Regions from separate parts of the Homo sapiens genome. Here region 1 is linked to region 2. Evidence: promoter capture Hi-C in 16 types of primary human blood cells and fetal thymus (Javierre and others, 2016). All regions are on one chromosome and are shown on one strand. The core of a region is centred on a gene start or on the middle of the fragment in contact, and the rest is flanking DNA. Distances in the headings are between cores, read along the strand shown.

The links. The method cuts DNA at HindIII sites, captures the fragments that hold promoters and counts their contacts. A CHiCAGO score of 5 or more calls a contact.
Region 1: a contact is called between a fragment that was not itself captured here and the fragment with the promoter of MAP3K5-AS1 in region 2, in 1 of 17 cell types (naive CD8 T cells). The highest score is 5.2, in naive CD8 T cells.

Annotation. Positions count from the first base shown.
Region 1 is chr6:136,742,679-136,749,418 of GRCh38, forward strand. The region is part of intron 1 of MAP3K5 (mitogen-activated protein kinase kinase kinase 5); the gene reads right to left. Among named protein-coding and RNA genes, the nearest start is that of MAP3K5-AS2, 38 kb to the right of the region's middle. RefSeq lists an enhancer at 2,345-2,514. The HindIII fragment of the contact is 996 bases long and covers 4,555-5,550 here.
Region 2 is chr6:136,626,100-136,631,981 of GRCh38, forward strand. It overlaps MAP3K5-AS1 (MAP3K5 antisense RNA 1), which reads left to right and starts at 3,015. Exons shown (of 3, transcript NR_125858.1): 1 at 3,015-3,177. All of the region lies in intron 14 of MAP3K5 (mitogen-activated protein kinase kinase kinase 5), which reads right to left. It also overlaps the pseudogene RNA5SP219. The HindIII fragment of the contact is 14,560 bases long and covers 1-5,882 here.

The sequences.
Region 1 (6,740 bases), core at 3,803-6,302, 120 kb after region 2:
AAAAAATTGTCAAGACTGTGAAGAGAATGAGAAGACAAGCCACAGACTGAGAGAATATATTTGCAAAAGACATATCTGTTAAAGAGTGTTATCCAAAATATACAAAGAATACTTAAAACTAAAAAATAAGAAAACAAACGATGAGATTAAAAAATGGGCCAAAGACCTGAATGGATACCTCATCAAAGAAGATATACAGATAGCAAGTAAGCATATGAAAACATGTTCATGGGGCCAGGCAAAGTGGCTCACTGTTGTAATCCCAGCACTTGGGGAGGCCAAGGCAGGAGGATCACTTAAGGCCAGGAGTCATGGTAGAAGGACTACCTGAGCCCAGAAAGCTGAAGGCTGCAGTGAGCTATGCTCATGACACTGCACTCCAGCCTGGGTGACAGAGACCTTGTCTCTAAAAAAAAAGAAAAAGAAAAAGAACAAAAGATGCTCAACATCATCTGTCATCAGGGAATTGCAAATTAAAACATTAAGATACGGCTGGGCGCAGTGGCTCACGCCTGTAATCCCAGCACTTTGGGAGGCCGAGGCGGGTAGATCATGAGGTCACGAAATCGAGACCATCCTGGCTAACACGGTGAAACCCCGTGTCTACTAAAAATACAAAAAATTAGCCGGGCATGGTGGCAGGCACCTGTAGTCCCAGCTACTCGGGAGGCTGAGGCAGGAGAATGGCATGAACCCGGGAGGCGGAGGTTGCAGTGAGCCAAGATCGCGAAACTGCACTCCAGCCTGGGTAACAGAGCAAGACTCTGTCTCAAAACAAAAACAAAAACAAAAAAAAAATTGAGATACCACTACACACCTATTCGAATGGCTGAAATCCAAAACACTGACGCCATCAAAGGCCAGTAAGGATGTGGAACCACAGGAAGTCTCATTCATTGATAATGGGAATGCAAAATGATACAGCCACTTTGCAAGACAGTCTGGTGGTTTATGATAAAACTAAACGTTTATACTATTGCTATACAACCCACCATTTGCACTCCTTGGTATTTACCCAAATGAAGTGAATTATTATGTCCACACAAAACTTGCACACAGATGTGTATAACAGCTTTATTCATAATTGCTAAAACTTGGAAGCAACCAAGATGTCTTTCAGGATGTAAGTGGATAAATAAACTGTGGTACAGACAGACAATTCATTATTATTTAGGGCTAAAAAGAAATGAGCCATCAAGCCATGAAAGGACACGAAGGAAACTTAAATGTACACTGTTAAGTGAAAGAAGCCAGTATGAAAAGGCTGTGACATTCTGAAAAAGAGAAACTATGGAAAAAGCAAAAGGATAAGTGGTTGCCAAGGGTTGTGAGGAGGGATGAATAGGCAGAGAACCAAGATTTTTAGGGCAGTGCAACTATGCTGTACAATATACTACTATAATTGTGGATACATGTCATTATACATTTGTCCAAACCCATAAAATACACAACACCAAGAATGAACCCTAATGTAAGCTATGGGCATCAGGTGATAATGATGTGTCAATGTAAGGTTCACCAATTGTAACAAATGCACCACTCTAGATCAGTATATTAACAGCAGAGGAGGCTGTGTTTGTGGGAGGGTAAGGAGTTTATGGGCAGTCTCTGTACCTTCTGCTGAGTTTTGCTGTAAATCTAAAACCGCTCTGAAATACACATATATATGTATATATACACGTGTGTGTACATACATATATACATATATATATGTATATATGAGAACCCTTGACTCTCCCATGCCCAGAAAAGTCTCTGTTCATGGTGTCAGGGTTATAAGGAAGGCTCCTGACACTTTGACAGAAGCCAAAGAACTCCCACAGATATCTTGAGATTGTGCTGGAAGGAGGACCTAGTCCATGCCACCACAGTTTGGAAATCAGCAGCTCCCAATCCAGCAGCAGAAAGTAGAACTTCCAACCCCATGCACTCCAACATGGACAGGTATCCACACCTTGCACACCCCTCACCAGCACCTACACCAGGGAGTTCTGGTTAGAGAAGTTACGGCTCAATGAAGTGCAGCTGCAAAGCCTAGTCACTTAAAGAATAATTCACAGCCTTGGCTGCACATTGTAATCACCTGGGGGCTTTGAAAAGCAGCAAGTCTGAGTCCTCAGCCCAGAGATCCTAATTTACTTGGTCTGGGGTGTAGGGTGGCCATCAGGATTTTTGGAATCAGGTGATTCTAATTTTCAATAAGACTAAGAACCACAGATTTGGAAGCTGATTTAAAGACACTCATCCATCAACCATGCCGCAGAGCACCGACTGCTTATTTTAGCATTTTGATCCATTATCATGCTCCTTAGAAATTCTGGCAACAAATATTCATTTTCACATTAATGGAAATAAATTGCTCTTAAAATGAAGACCAGTGTAAGTGGTATTTGGCTGGAACATAATGTTTCCTGTTCAGAATACTGACAGGGCAGCAGCGGGCATACACTTGGCAGTCATTAAAGTTTTTTTTTTTTTTTTTTTTTTGAGCAACTTAATTGGAGCTTCGGCATCTATTATGTATCTTGTTTAGAAAAGTTCCTTTAAATTGAATAGACGAAGATGACTATTTTTCCCTTTCCTATATCAGAGTATTAAAAATGGGATAAATATAATCATGTATTTCACCAACACAAATTGTTGGGAAGAAAATTAATTTTCTCTCCATGTTCAACTCTCAACACACGAATACACTTTTTGAAAATACAAGAACACTGACGTGACCTAGAAAAAAGGTTTTGTCAGGGCACTCAAAGAGTTAAAGGAAAGGCCGGCCAGCTCCCTGCCTCTGGCTGCTGTGGCAGGGAGGAGGATGCTGGGAACGCTCCCCACTGAATGGCTCTTTCTCCCCTTCTTTGAGCTGGGAGTAGAGGAATGCAGTGACTCCCAGCACACCTACCATCCTGCCCATGAACATCACAAGACCCTGTTCACAGGGTGGACTCTAAAAATAAAATTCCTTGTGCCGCTGCCTGTGCCTCAGTTTTTCTGCAGGCATTCTGCATGTTTCCGCTGCTTGTTTGTTCAAAGCCTTCCAGCTACACACACAGAAGAAGGGCCCGTGGACATGAAAAAGAGCTCACATCTGTATCTGCTACTTAACAATATTTTCAATAAAGGCATAGATAATGTCTTTTTTGGTAGCAAGAAATTTAATCTAGATAATTCCGAGGAGAGTTAGCATAACCCAGAGATTTCTTAGTCACGTTCCAAAGTCTCATCCTAACGTTAGCTTAATGTCTAACATTGCTTCTCCCTTAAACCCAGATTGATTCTGCTTATGGGATGTTAGTTGGTAAGGAGCATGCATAGCCTGGAAACAGGGTCAAGAGAAGAAGCAGGAAGACTAGTTAGGAGACAGCTGCATGGGTCCAGGTGCGAAATGCTGATGATGTTTGAACTAGGATGGTGGCAGTTTTGGAAGAGTGTCAGATACTTCAAATGATTTAATATCTTAACTCTTGACTTCCCCAATAGAACAAATACCAACTATGGTAAATACAGCAGGTTTATGGCTTAATGTTCAAGTTAATAAGTATTCTCTAGGTTTACAGAATGAAAAAACCAGACATAAAGGACTCAAATGAAATAAATTTCATAAAATTTTGAGGGGGGGGCAGGAAAATACAAATACGTTCATGTCTGTAGGTCTGTGAAAAACGATACAGGTGGAAGATAATCTTACCTGTAATAACATGATGTCTGACTATGAGCTATTAGTTACAACTTAATTATTGACCCAGGAATTTCTATGTACTGTTCTATGGAAGTATTTGGGTCTCTTTAAATGAAAATGACTAGCGAGGCACTGAACATCACGGAAAGAATGCCGGATACACAATTGAAAGTGGTATGCATTTTAATAACTATCCTAGAAGAAAGCTATGGCCCCACCACACAGAGAAAACCATGCAGGGTTCTAATACCCACGAGAGAGGGAGACAAAATCTATGTATAATCATGGTTTAACAGGGGAAAAAAAACAATTTGAGTATGCATAACAATATTCTTTCCTTTTTGCAATAAAAAAGCAATAAGGATTAGTGAGAAAAATTAGGGGAAATCCCCCAGTCCTCTTTCTGACCCCTACTCTTCAGTACCTCTGGTGGCCTTGGTTTGAACACCGTCTGTGCTCTAAGAATGGTCAGTTTGCTACATACAGTTGAAAGAATTACACTTCTTGTTAGAATATTCAAATTCTTTAAAAATGTATTTTTTATACAAATGCAAAATCTGTCTCTAACTTCTACTGATTCACTGCTTCAATTTTCTTTCGTTTTTTTGAGAGACAGGGTCTTGCTCTCTCAATCATAACTCACTGCAGCCTCAAACTCCTGGACTCAAGGGATCCTCCCACTTCAGCCTCCCCAGTAGCTGGGATTATAAGCACGCGCCACCATGTCTAGCTAATTTTTAAATCTTTGTAGAGGCAGGGTCTTGCTACATTGCCCAGGCTGGTTTTGAACTCCTGGTCTTATTGGCCTCCCAAAGTGCTGGGATTACAGGCATGAGTTGCCATGTCTGGCCCATTGCTTCTATTTTCTGCTTTCCTAAAGCTTCACTGAAAAACTCAAATTCCTTCTCTTCCAGAAACCTTCAGACACTTAAGAACAGTAATCCTGGCATCCATGACATTTTCTTATCCAGGTTACAACATCTCTGGTCCCTTCATAGGGCAGCAGGGCTTCTAGTCCTGTTAGTACGGGTGCTGTCTAGATACACTCTGGCCAAAGAATGTACAGGGAGCCAATGCCCATTAAAAGAATTTTCTGGGGCGAAACAAACTATAACTCTAAAAGGAACCAACAGAACCGAAAACCCACCACAATAGTATATGCTGGAAATGTACAGCAAAGGCTGAGAAGCCTGGTGCATGTTTAGCTATTAACAGGTCATGAGTGTCTTTTGCAAGACTGGCAGATTAAAAACAATGGATTGAAGAATAAGTGGGAGGTTATGAGGCAAAAATTGTGAGTTCAGACTAGTGTTCTCAAATTTAATGTGTACATGAATCACCAGGATATTGTGTCAAAAAAGAGATTCTGATTGAGCTGTGTGACATTGGGGTGATGATTACCTTTCTCATAAGCACCCAGTTGATGCCCATGCTGCTGTGTAGGGACCACATTTTGAGTAGCAAGGGTGTAGACTATTGTCAAGTGATCTCCAAGCAGCGGCCATATTGTAAATCCATAAACAGGGTAAAAAGGAATGCTTTCAGCATACAATGAAGCCAACTTTAGCCAACAGGGAAAATATTGCTGTATTTAAGAACCTAGGTCTATCAGATATATGGTGGTTCTTTGGAGGCCATTATTTATTACCATGATCTAAGAGATGGATTTCAAAATGATCTCTAAAAAAAAACAAAATTTCCATTTTCTGCCCCAAAGTGAGAAATCCTAAATAAAGCAGTATTCCTTGAGTCATCTGTAGAGCTGTGAATGTGTCCATGTAGGCATAGAGTATACAATATTATCCATTTCACATCCTTAGTCAGTGGACTTAATCCCACTTTTCTGAATCAGGTGTGGATTATCTTGGTTGACAAGCTTCTCAAATGTATTCAGATAAAGAAGGCACTTGGAAAAATGTCAATATTTATCACTACACAGCCACATTTGAACCGTATTAATTTATACCTAGTGTTCCATTATTGGAACACCAAGCATGTAGGAGTTATTTATATCCTACTGCTCAAGGTCATCACCAAGGTCTGATTGCAAAAATTCAAAAAATTGCAACCTCAGTCATAAATGGGTTAAAATCCCCCAAAATGTCTATATATGTATGCTCACACAAATATGTATTTGTTCAGGAAAAAAAATGAAGAAAATTGTTCTAAAAATATGGGGGAGTGTTCTTCGCAAAACATATGCAAAGACAAGACACAGGGCAAATAAAACCTGAGAAAATATACAAAAGACTATAAGATTAGTTTCTTGAAGAATAAAGATGCAATTAAATTACAGAATTTAACACCTGGCATGGTACAATAAGATACCTTAGAAATAAAGAATTAAAACTTGAAGGCAAGTTTTTAGAAGTTAAAAGTTGAAGTACATGTTTTGTAGAAATTGTGGTCAAAGGTAAGAGAATAACTTCTAAGAAATGAGTGTAAAATATTGTAAAACAGCTTTAACTAGGTAGCTTTAACTAGATTAACACTGACTAAGGCTCTTGGATAACTGCATAGGCAATTCATTTTGTATAATTAAGGAGAAGAAAATCAGCCAGTGGCTGTTGTTTTACTCAGCATCTTTCAGATACAGTTATAGATAAATTCCTGATTTTAGTTAAGAAATAAAACTGGAACAAGAAAGAAAATTATATAATATGCTCAAAACTTATAGTCAAATTGCCTTAATTATTAGGACTGGCCGGGCACAGTGGCTCATGCCTATAATCCCAGTACTTTGAGAGGCCAAAGCTGTTGTCACCTGGAGAAGAAAATGTCAGGGGTGCTGGCAGATCACTTGAGGTCAGGAGTTCGAGACCAGCCTGGCCAACATGGTGAAACCCCATCTCTACTAAAAATACACAAATTAGCCGGGTATGGTGGCACGCGCCTCTAATCCCAGCTACTCAGGAGGCTGAGGTAGGAGAATCGCTTGAACCTGAGAGGCAGAGGTTGCAGTGAGCCAAGATCATGCTACTGCACTCCAGCCTGGGCAACAGAGCGAAACTCTGTATCAAAAAAAAAAAAAAAAAGGAATTATGAGGGCTCCATTAGGGTGCGT
Region 2 (5,882 bases), core at 1,765-4,264:
CAAACTCTTGGGTACACACGCATGACTCGAGAGGATGGGGCTGGGGTGGAGCATGTCCCTACCAGCTCCAGGTTATTTGTTTCCAACAGGTTTTCAGGCCCTTATAGAAGGCAGTCGGGTGGTGTCTTCTGGGGAAAATTATGCCTAATACAATGCTAGGGCTGGAGTGAGCACTGGCCTCCTTAGCATGAATTCTTCTCTGGCTCAGGACAGAGGCCAAGCTCTGGAAGGGAGATGACTACTTACCCATTGCCAAGTATCCAGTGGCACATTAGAGAATAGCCCTGTTCTGGCTGCCTAACATAAAGCTGAAGACTGTCTTGGTCCAGGGTAGATGATCAGAGTGACCAGGTGATAGGTGATCAGAGGGAAGGAACAGGCAGCAGGGATCATTTAGCAACATGCTCTAACTCAGAGTTAAAACTGGGCTCCTGCGAGGAGACAGGAAGCATAATCCAAACAACGCCACCTGAAGGAGCCCAAGTCTCCACACCCAATTCCTGTAGTCTAGACTTCTGCAATGCTGTGCCTGCCACGCTGGAATTCCACCAGTGGGACCCAGCCAGCAGCAGGTAAAGAAGCTCAACTTTGCCGATGTGCCCTCTCAAAGGATTAGAAACCTATACACTCCATCTAGTACCACCACCATTTTACACTACAATGCTTTATAATCTTAAAGGAAAAAAAAAACCAACTTTCAATAACCCACCTCACTTATCATCATAAGCATGTGTAATAGGTTTCTGATTACTTTCAATTTACAAATGATCAGAAATTTTTTTTTCCAGTGAAAATATATCAGAGTTGTGGTTTGAAACCAGCTTGTGAGATTCCAGATTTTGTATCCTTTCCACTACCTATGCATTAGGGAAACCCTATCATAGAATAAGAGCTTACAGGGTGATTATTAGTTGTTTCCAAATACCAGTGTTATAAAGATATTACAGTATATTGTTAATATCCATGGAACATCCATTTGCTTTTTTTTAGCAGACATCTGGTAGCCACTGTCCTCTTAGAATTTTGTTTTTTTCCTTCTTTTACTATGTATTTCAAATTTATTGCCAACTGTTCTCAGATTTTTCTTCTTAAAATCTCACAAATCCATTTTACCTCCTTATTCTCACCGGAGTTGCCTCAGAATCTCTGTAGAAGTAGCACAGAAGAAAAGCACTTCTCTGCAAAAAAAAAGTTCAGAGGCTTTTCTCCTCTCTTGTTGCTCCATTCCCCAATTTATTCTCCACTAAATTGACAGTGAACTTTCCAAAGTCCAAAGTTCCACATGAACTTTCCATGTCAGTGCCACTGCATCTATTTTATTGGCAGCTTGTTACTTTCCGGATGAAATCCAAACTCCTTAGCACAGCATAAATGCCTGCTATGGTCTGAATGTTTGCGTACCCCCCTCTTCAGCGCCCTCAAAATCTGTATGTTGAAACCGAATCACAATGTATTAAGAGTTAGGCCCTTTAGAAGGTGATTAGGTCATGAGGCTAGAGCTCTCATGAATGGGATTAGTCCCCTTATGAAAGAGGCTTGAAGGAGCCTGGTTGAGCCTTCAGCCATGTGAGCACCCACAGAAGGTACCATCTAGAGGAAGTAGGCCCTCACCAGACACTGAATCTGCTGGTGCCTTGATCTTGGATTTCTCAGCCTCTGGAACTGTGAGCAAAGCATTTCTATTGGGTATAAATTACCCAGCCTAAGGCATTTTGTTATAGCGGCCTGGATGGACCAAGACAATGCCCTTCAAGATCTTACGGCTACCTCTGTCATCCTCGTCTGGACACTTGAGCTCTTCGAGACTTGGGACTTCATCCTTAATTACTCTATCCCCAGTTTTAGCATGTAGCTTGTAGTAGATGCTCAGTAATTATTTGCTTAACTAATTAATCAAGTTATAGAAAAATGTGATGAGAACTTTTTTAGAAAAGAACTAGATCCCAAAACAAAACATTTAGAGTCATTATTGGTTTATTCTTGGGTGAAAGCATTTTTCCAATAGATATATTTAAATCTTTTTTTTTTTTTAAAGAGTGTTTTGCTCTGTCGCCTAGGCCGGAGTGCAGTGGTGCCATCATAGCTCATTGCAGCCTTGAACTCCTAGGTTCAAGCAATCCTCCCACTTCAGCCTCCTCAACAGCTGGGACTTCAGGTGTACAGCACTATGTCCAGCTAATTTTTTCTATTTTTTGTAGAGATGGGGTCTTGCTATGTTGCCCAGGCTGGCCTTGAACTCCTGGCCTCAACTGATCCTGCTGCCTCGGCCTCCCAACCACTGGGAGTACAGGTGGGAGCCATCATACTCAGCAGTTTTTTTTTTTAAAGAGATGGAGTCCTGCTATGTTACCCAGGCTGGACTCAAAGTCCTGGGCTCAAGTGATCCTCCCAAATAGCTGGGACTCAGGTGCACACCACCAGGTCCAGCTCTACAACAGGTATGCTTATATAGAAGAGTGAAGAATACATAAACCTTGATGAGGCTGCTAAAGTTTTAATTTCCCCTAGGAATCTAAGGCATCAGAAGACTATTTTTTAAAAGATTACGTATTAGATACAGATTTAAAAGATTATGTATTAGATATAGAAGATTAGATATAGAAGCTGACTCCTGTTAAACAAAATGGTGATAGTAAAATGAAAAGGAATTGTAAAAAGAGCAGTGTTATTTAAGTAAAACCATCTCTGTGGGTAATTGCTGCTTTGTTTTTCTATCTCCCCTTTCTATTCTTACGAGATAAAGATAGAAATTGAAATGGCAGTTTTGAAAGAAAGCTGAAAAGAAACAAGAGACTGGTTCAGCCTAGAAGGACAGAGAATCATCTATGTAATGTCCAGGAATAGTAGAAGAGAGGGTTTTAAAAAATAAAAGGTAACATTACATTGCTTATATATTTTGCATTCTATTTCTATGGTAATAGGTTAGCAAATCAGGTTGTTGCTAAGGGAAACAAGAATTTCATTCTGAGGCAATCATGAGAATTTTTCTAGAATCATCTCTTTATTGCTGTCTGCTCAGAACAATCAAAACTGGTAGCGGGAAGAGAATCAGTGTAGGAAGGCAACATTGACAAGGCCAAACAACGAAGTGGTGACTCACTGAGTCCTTGCACTCTCGAAGGAAACAACCACCTTAGAAAAAACCATGCACTTTCGGCGGGGGCTTAATCACATTAGGTGAGTAATCACCTCAAAGACCCAAATGGCAGCTCTGTTAATGTTCAGTCTGTATGGCCTTCTTTATATGTAAATGCCAAAACATTAATAACTACTAATAACATTAATAGAATGCCAAAAACACTGCAGGTACAAATATCTAGTGTGATGGATCTCTCCTCCCTTAGATCTTTACTCACATCTCACCTTTTTTTTTGAGAAGGAGTCACGCTCTGTCGCCCAGGCTGGAGTGCAGTGGCACAATCTCAGCTCGCTGCAAGCTCCGCCTCCCAGGTTCACGCCATTCTCCTGCCTCAGCCTCCCGAGCAGCTGGGACTACAGGTGCCCGCCACCACACCCAGCTAATTTTTTGTATTTTTAGTAGAGATGGGCTTTCACCTTGTTAGCCAGGATGGTCTCAATCTCCTGACCTCATGATCCACCCGCCTTGGTCTCCCAAAGTGCTGAGATTACAGGTGTGAGCCATGGCGCCCGGCCATATCTCACCTTCATTTATTTATTTATTTATTTATTTATTTATTTATTTATTTATTTAGAGTCTCACTCTGTCGCCCAGGCTGGAGTGCCTAGGTTCAAGCGATTCTCCTGCTTTAGCCTCCCGAGTAGCTGGGATTACAGGCGCTTGCCACCATGCCCGGCTAATTTTTGTATTTTCAGTAGAGATGGGGTTTCGCCATTTTAGCCAGGTTGGTCTCAAACTCCTGACCTCAAACAATCCAACTCCTCTGCCTCCCAAAGTGCTGGGATTACAGGCATGAGCCACCACACCCGGCCTAAATCTTACCTTCTTAATGAGCTTCCCAGGCCTTCCTATCTAAAATTGCACGTCCCTGCTACACTGTAACTTCCTAAACCCTTCCCTGGTTTATTATTCTCCTTAACCCTGATCACCATCTAACATACTATAGATGGTATTTTACTTATTTGTGTTTATTGTCCGTCTCTCATTAGAAAGTAACCTGAGTCTACAGCTATACCACCCTGAATGCGTCCAATCTCTTCTGATCTCGGAAGCTAAGCAGAGTTGGGCCCGATTAAGACTTAGATGAGAGCATGTAAGCTCTCAGTGATAGCAGGAATTTCTCTCCATTTTGTTCTCTGCCATCTCTCCAGCACATGGAATGGTGCCTACCATTCAATAGCTGTCCAAAAATATGTGAGTGCATTAGTGAGATCCATTTGGACCCACTGATGTGGATGAAGATGATTTTAGGCTGAAAACATCAGAAAAACAGCAGCAGCAGAAAAAAACCTTATCTAAATTTCTTTTGCGGACATAAGCAATGCCTCCTAAAATACATCTGCCATTTATTTCCTCTCCAGGAGGTTAATGACCAAAGAGGAGATAGACCACTTGCACCTAGAGGAGATGTTGCATAAACAAAACCTTATCAAAACTTTCTGTTCCTCACACTTATTTCTCATTAGTCTCCCACCATACACTTTCTTAAAGTCTTAACCCTCTTTCTTACTAAGATGATATATAAACACTCAACTCTAGCTGTTTAGGGAGCCAATTCTTTGTGTAAGTCTCTTTCATTGACTTAGCATTGACTACATGAATAAATTTTGGCTAGGCATGGTGGCTCACATCTGTAATCTCTGCATTTTGGGAGGCCAAGGCAGCAGCTTAGGCAACATGGTGAAACCCTGTCTCTATAAAAAGCACAAAAATTAGTCAGGCATGGTGGTGCACACCTTAGTCCCAGCTACTCAGAAGGCTGAGGTGGGAGGATCGCTTGAGCCCAAGAGATAGAGGCTGCAATGAGCCGAGATCACACCACTGCACTCCAGCCTGGGGGACAGAGGGAGATTCTGTTTCAAAAATAAAACAAAACAAAAGAATAAAGTTTGTCTGCTCTCCTGTCAACTTGTCTTTTGTCAGTTAATTTGCAGGCCCCTGACCATTGAACATAAGCTGGTACAAGAAAAAGGCTTTTCCCCGTTCCCAACAGAATGAATGAATGAATAACAAATTGATACTCATATCATACAACACTATAAGTGATGTATTTTCTCAGGCAGGGAAGTAACTGTGGGTATTCAGCTTCATATCTGCACAAAAATAGAAATAGGATGTTAAAAAAGAGTTTGCTACATGATGATTCCAAACTGACTAAAATAAATTCTGAACCATAATTACTAAGGTATATGAGGCCAATCATCAGAAAAGAAAACAGTAAGGTCTTCCATCTTCCTGCAGATATTTGAGTCAAATGAAAATAATGTCACTTTTTTTTTTCTTTTTTTTTTTTAGACAGGGTCTGGCTCTGTCACCAAGGCTGGAGTGCAGTGGCGCAATCCTAGCTCACTGCAGCCTTGACCTCTCGGGCTCAAGCAGAGAGGTCCATATGGATTGGAGGCCTTCTCCCATCCATATCTCTCTCCTCCCAGTTTGAGATATTAGGTTGGTGCAAAAGTAATTGTGGTTTTTGCCATTATTGCTACAACCTAATATTAAAACAACTCTGATTTTGTCACTGCCCAGCTTCAAACCCTTCAGATTGAATCTCTTTTACTTGGACACCTGGCACCATGTGAGCTCATGTGATTAAAAAGGGCAAAAAGCCACCATCCTGCCATGGGACATTAACAGTCCAGTCCAGTGCAGGCTACCAGATTACAATGCATGGAGAAGAGCTAGGCCAGAGGAGTGGGCCAAAATGCTAAGAGAACAGAGAAAAGCAAGAAGGGGAGTTGAGAAA